2 separate regions of the Homo sapiens genome follow, and region 1 is linked to region 2. Evidence: promoter capture Hi-C in human tissues and cell types (Jung and others, 2019). All regions are on one chromosome and are shown on one strand. The core of a region is centred on a gene start or on the middle of the fragment in contact, and the rest is flanking DNA. Distances in the headings are between cores, read along the strand shown. Region 1 has its middle 18 kb from the start of TSPAN9. Region 2 holds the start of FKBP4 (FKBP prolyl isomerase 4).

Region 1 (3,031 bases), core at 515-3,014, 260 kb after region 2:
TAGACACTAAGCATGTAGCACTAATAATTTAAACACTATTCACAAAACATAGCCTCAATTTATAGACCCAATTAGATTTATTTAAGCATTTAACCACCAAACTTAATCTACCTAAATACTAAACTAATATCACAAGTTTAATGTCACATGCTTTTACACTTTTCCAACACTTTAAAAAGCAGATTTTAAAATTCTATACTTTAAAGTCATTAGTGGTTAATTTTGTTACGTGAATTTTACCTCAACTAAAAGCAGATAAAACCCAAATCATCCCAGTGTTTGCAGTAGTTATTACCTAAAGCTATTAAAGTAGTTACTCCTTAAAGGTATTACAAGAGTATTAATGTACGTTCGTGTCCATCATCTTCTTTATATTTATTTTTAAGCCTCTATCCAAAGAAAGAAAGCAGAATTAGCCTCACAGTTGGGCTGAAATCAGTTGAAGATGTAGGTCTGAGGTACGGTTACAGATCGGGGTATGAGTTCCAGATTTGGAGCTGCCGTGCTGTTCCAGTATGGAGAGATGCTTGGAGCCTGGGCACTGGGTCTGGGAGTGGGGCCTGGATGTGCCTTCTACAGTCATTTCTCCCAGGCTGGCAATTATCAGTGTGGGTGGCTTCCTTTGGTCAAGTTTTTCCTGCCGAATTAACAAGATTCATAGAACTCTCACTGTTTTGTTTTGTTTTGTTTTTTGTTTTTAAATAACTCAGTGCATCTTTCATCCCTGAGTGTCCTTTAAATCTCATTACCTGATATAAATACATAAGTACAAGAAATTCGGGCTGGGAGCGGTGGCTCACGCCTGTAATCCCAGCACTTTGGGAGGCCAAGGCGGGCGGATCACGAGGTCAGGAGATCGAGACCATCCTGGCTAACACGGTGAAACCCCGTCTCTACTAAAAATACAAAAAATTATCCGGGCGTGGTGGCGGGCGCCTGTAGTCCCAGCTACTCGGGAGGCTGAGGCAGGAGAATGGCGTGAACCTGGGAGGCGGAGCTTGCAGTGAGCCGAGATCGCGCCACTGCACTCCAACTTGGGCGACAGAGCCAGACTCTGTCTCAAAAGAAAAAAAAAAAAGTACAAGAAATTCATAGCTTAATTATGAATCAAAACTTGGCTATGGTATGCACAGTGTTTTAAAAGTGGACACTTCAGAACAATTGGCTTTGGCAAAACAAAAACAACCAAAAACCAGTTGACATTTTCAGGAGCTCACATATACTTTTAGTATAACCCATATCCAGTACCATTATGGACTCAAGCTTTTCACTACATTTTTGTTTTCTTTTTGATAATCAGATGATCACAGTTTTGCCTTTTTTTCCTTTCTTTTCTTTTCTTTTTAGAGACAATGTCACTGCAGCCTTGAACACCTGGGCTCAAGGGATCCTTCCACTTCGGCTTCCCAAGTAGCTGGGACTACAGGTACGCGCCACCACACCCAGCTAATTTTTTTATTTTTTGTAGATGTGGGGTCTCGTTATGTTGTCCAGGCTGGTCTTGAATTCCTGGCCTCCAGTGACTCTCCTGCCTCAGCCTCCCAAAGAGTGGGGATCACAGGCATGAGCCACCGTGCCTGGCTGGCTTTGACTTTTTTTCTTTCTTTTTTTTTTTTTTTTTTTGAGACGGAGTCTTGCACTGTCGCCCAGGCTGGAGTGCAGTGGCGCCATCTCGGCTCACTGCAAGCTCTGCCTCCTGGGTTCACGCCATTCTCCTGCCTCAGCCTCCCGAGTAGCTGGGACTACAGGCGCCCGCCACCACACCCGGCTAATTTTTTTGTACTTTTAGTAGAGATGGGGTTTCACCGTGTTAGCCAGGATGGTTTCGATCTCCTGACCTCGTGATCCGCCCGCCTTGGCCTCCCAAAAGTGCTGGGATTACAGGTGTGAGCCACCGCACCCGGCCCAGCTTTGACTTTTTATGCTGCGTCCTTTTTCCTTTTAACACTACCTTAAACATTTTTGTTTTTTAACTTACATACTTCTAGCAAAGTCTGCTCAGGCCAACTCTGATTTTTCTTGCACCAAGGTATGGAATCAGCTATTCCCCAAGGAGCCCTGTTTCTTTGAGTGGCAAATGTTATCAGTTGAATGTTATGTCTGGGCGCTCATGGTGCGAATCACATTATCCGTGTGAGAACTAAAGGCAGGCGTCTGCTTCTAGTGCACTCCAGTGGGAGCTGGGAAATGAGTTCGTGCTGATGTGTCCAATTCAACTCCAACTCTAAGTCCTTTAAAAAAATACACCCTGTTATAAAAGGTTTTCATTTTTTTCTCCCCTTTTAAACTTCCAGCTTATTCTTCTTTTATAAAAACAACTATATATATATATTTTTTTCTACCTCCTTCCCCCCATATGTGTATTCCAATTAAAACATTAATGAACTTTTTAATGTCATAAATGGATGTATACCTACTTAGATCCCAGACACCCTGGCAAGGGCTTCAAATGTGCCATCTTCACTTTTATACTCCTTGTGTGTCTTATCAACCATCATCCTCTGGTCATTTATTGACAGTCACACAATTTCATTTCACCCAACTCTATTGAATTCATGAGACTTTGATTTCAATTTCAAACCATCGGCATGGGTTCCTGCTGTCCAGGAGCAATCACGCCTTCTGACTCTTCCCTGCGTTTGGTACTGGAGATCGGGGATGTCATTTTCTCATTGTTTCTCCCTGTTATCTTCAGGGCTCCTCTCAGACGGTCTCTGCGACCTGCTCTTCAGAGAGCTTCCGGAGGAAATATAATTAACATGCATCTAACAAAGTTAACCTTTTTAACAATTTTTATTCTTTTTTTTTTTTTTGAGACAGTCTTGCTCTGTCACCCAGGCTGGAGTGCAATGGCGCGATCTCGGCTCACCACAACCTTCGCCTCCCAGGTTCAAGCAATTCTCCTGCCTCAGCCTCCCGAATAGCTGGGATTACAGGCTCCTGCCACCATGGCTGGCTAATTTTTTTGTATTTTTAGTAGAGATGGGGTTTCACCATGTTGGCCAGGCTGGTCTCGAAATCCTGACCTCAG
Region 2 (3,023 bases), core at 357-2,856:
TTTAACCCCTACAGAGGCAGCGCCCCGTATCCTCTGAAGCTGTCTCCAGCCACCTAAAGAGACGTCTTCATTATGGCTCAACTCATTTGGGCTGTAAATTGCTGAAGCGAAGGGCTTTTTCTTCTGCATCCCTTTCAAGTTCCGTCGGCAGGGACTACAATAAATCATCACATTATGACGCTGAAAGTTCATCTCTAAAAAGCTTTCAATTTAGTTTGATGAGACTAATGGCGTCCAATCGCACAGTGCCGGGCACATAACGGGAAGTCCAAAAATACAGTTATTATTGGAATAAAAATTCAGGCTGGGCGCAGTGGCTCACGCCTGTAATCCGAGAACTTTGGGAGGCCGAGGCGGGCGGATCATTTGAGACCAGATGTTCGAGACCAGCCTGGGCAACATGGCGAAACCCCGTCTCTACTAAAAATACAAAAATTAGTCGGCGTGGTGGCGGACGCCTGTAGTCCCGGCTACAGAGAGCCAAGATCGCACCACCGCACTGCAGCCTGGGCGACAGAGCAAGACCCTGTCTCAAAAAAAAAAAAAAAAGAAAAAAAAATCAGCCAAGACTTGGAAAAAGAAATTTAAAAAAGGAAAATTCATGCAGCCAGTAACTATTGGGACATCACTCACCAGGCACTATGCTAAACTGGGGTTAGGTGCTGAGCAAAACCAGGCCCCTCTCTAGATGGCTCTCTAGGTCCCACGACCATAGCTTAGGTGACACCGGCACCTGCGCGCTCCACAGCCTGTCGAAAAACACTCGGGAAGCAAACATTGAGAAGAAAATACTCCTTCTGTGGGCCTTTAGGAAAACCGAGTGACTTTTTTCGTGAGGGGAACCCATCTTTGTAAGCATTCGCGGAAACGGCAGTTTTATTACCGCCGGGAAGGGTCCCCTGAGTGTGTGCCCCATCTGAGTTCCGAGCTGGGCGGGCCATGCCTTGCCAACCCCGCTGCTCGCAGCATCTGCAGGCGCTGAGCGAGGCATCGCTGCCTGGCCGGGGCTTCTCGGATCTGGGGAAATCGAGGTCGCTTTCCCCGGCTCTCTGCAGCGGGGCAGCGCTGTCCACTCACTCCCCGCTCCCCGCGCACGCCCTTGCCCTCTTTCCCCCAAGTAGGGAAGGGTCTACGCGGGTCATAGCAGAGAGGCCACGCCGCCCGTGGTGACGGCCGGTCCCGGGGAGGGGGCGCCGCCACTGCCATCCCGCAGCCTGCGCTCCCCACACCCCGCCGCAGGCGCAGCGGACTGGTGGAGTGATGTCGGGAGATCGATCGAGAAGAATCTGGAAGAATCCGGTTAGACAGGGAAGCGGGCGGGGATGGGAGGGAGGGAGGAAGGGCCAAGGGAGGCCGCCGGGGAGATCCCGAGTCCGAGGGTCCCAGGAGAAGGGGGAGGGGGCAGGCAGCCAGAAGGAGGCAAGAACCAAAAAAAAAAAAAGAAAAAAAAATTCCGAAGCGCCCGCAGCACTGAGCCCGAACCGGCTCAGTCCCGCCGTCTCTAGAAAGTTCTGCACCCCGCCCCCTCTGTCTGCGCTCCCGCTCCTCCCAGCCCCTCCCTCGCGGCGGGGCGGGACCAATCGCTCCCCGAGCCGCTCCTGACCCACCTACCCCAGCTCTCGCGCCGCGTGCAGAGGTGCTCAAGCCTCCTCGCGGTCCGCAGTCAGTGCCGCCGCGCCCGGCCTCCCGCACGCCCCGCAGGTAGCGCCCCCGCCCGCGGCCCAGAGTGCGCTCGCGCCGGCACCAGCTCCCGGATAAACGGCGCGCCGCGCGGAGATGACAGCCGAGGAGATGAAGGCGACCGAGAGCGGGGCGCAGTCGGCGCCGCTGCCCATGGAGGGAGTGGACATCAGCCCCAAACAGGACGAAGGCGTGCTGAAGGTGAGGGGCGGCGGGGCCTGCGGAGGCGTCGGAACCCGGGGCCCCGCGGGCCGCCCTTCCGCCGCGCCCGGAGCCCGCGGCCGGGCACGGGTCGAGGCGGCCGCCTTTGCAGCCTCGCGGCCGTCCCGCCGGGGGCCGGTGGCATCGCCGTCCCGGACCGGGCTGCGTCGTTTAAGGCACCGAGGCCGGCCATGCGCTCGGCAGGGGGGCGGCCTAGGTGCGCGGGCCGAGGCCCCAGGCTCCCCAGCCGGCAGCGCCCGGGCCCGGGCAGGGGGTCGGGATTGCAGTGCCCACCCCGGCGCGCGCGGGGCGGCGGAGAGGGGCGGGGCGAGGCGACCGCCGCGGGCACCCGAGCCGCAGCCCGGGGCCAGGCCGGGCCTCCCACGCCACGCCGCCCCCGACCTCGCGGCCCCAGCGGAGCTGCCAGCCGCGGGCCGCCTCGTTGGTGGCGGTGCCAGGGCTCGCCCACCCGGGCGGTGGAACACGGGCCAGGACGGGGAGCGACTCCCCACAGTGCTTTCCTGGCCCTTCGGCCTTTGTGCGACGCAGGCGCGACAGGGTTCCGGCGCCCTCCCGGGGTCCCCTGCCGACGCCGGGACCCAGCGAGGTCCCCACTCGCCGCGCGGCGCCCCCTCCCTCGGCCCCGGGGAGGCCGGGCGCGGGGCATGCCGGGAGCTGTAGTCCCCTCCCCCCTCCGCCGCCTCCCGGAGCCAGGGCTGCGGGGTGTGGGGCGGGGAGGAGGCGCTCTGCTGTGGAGCCTGCCGCCGAGTGACCGCTCGACTACAAATAGCCTGGGGAGCTGCGGGGAGGGCATCTTGACCTGGGCCAGGACAACCTGCCTTGGGTCGGAGCAGGTTCCAGGGAGAATCAGAGATGGTGAATTCCCAGCCTGCGTCTTATGCCTTCTCCCCATCCGCTGCTGCGTCCTCATCCTGGCTTCCCACCGCTGAGCTCCGCGTGTGCGGCACCCACCTCAGGGGGCCTTTACCTGGTCCAGAAGTGCATCTGTCTTTGCACCAGATTATTGGGGACCTCAAGCGTCTGCTCCAGCGGCTCTCCTGTGGCATGTGACTTCCCCTTCTCGCTCCAGCGTCCTGCCGTTTTCTACGAGATTGTTATTCCAGGAAAGCTCATTTCCCCTT

Evidence for each region. Contacts are between HindIII fragments. The study calls those that stand out against the background at their distance.
Region 1: a contact is called between a fragment that was not itself captured here and the fragment with the promoter of FKBP4 in region 2, in 1 of the 25 tissues and cell types used here (dorsolateral prefrontal cortex).

What each region holds. Positions count from the first base shown.
Region 1 is chr12:3,057,630-3,060,660 of GRCh38, forward strand. No RefSeq gene overlaps it. Among named protein-coding and RNA genes, the nearest start is that of TSPAN9, 18 kb to the right of the region's middle. The HindIII fragment of the contact is 4,152 bases long and covers 1-3,031 here.
Region 2 is chr12:2,793,364-2,796,386 of GRCh38, forward strand. FKBP4 (FKBP prolyl isomerase 4) reads left to right here and starts at 1,607. Exons shown (of 10, transcript NM_002014.4): 1 at 1,607-1,881. The coding sequence starts at 1,777. All of the region lies in intron 2 of ITFG2-AS1 (ITFG2 antisense RNA 1), which reads right to left. RefSeq lists enhancers at 486-1,031, 1,032-1,576 and silencers at 1,426-1,805, 1,836-1,895, 2,246-2,655. The HindIII fragment of the contact is 5,309 bases long and covers 1-3,023 here.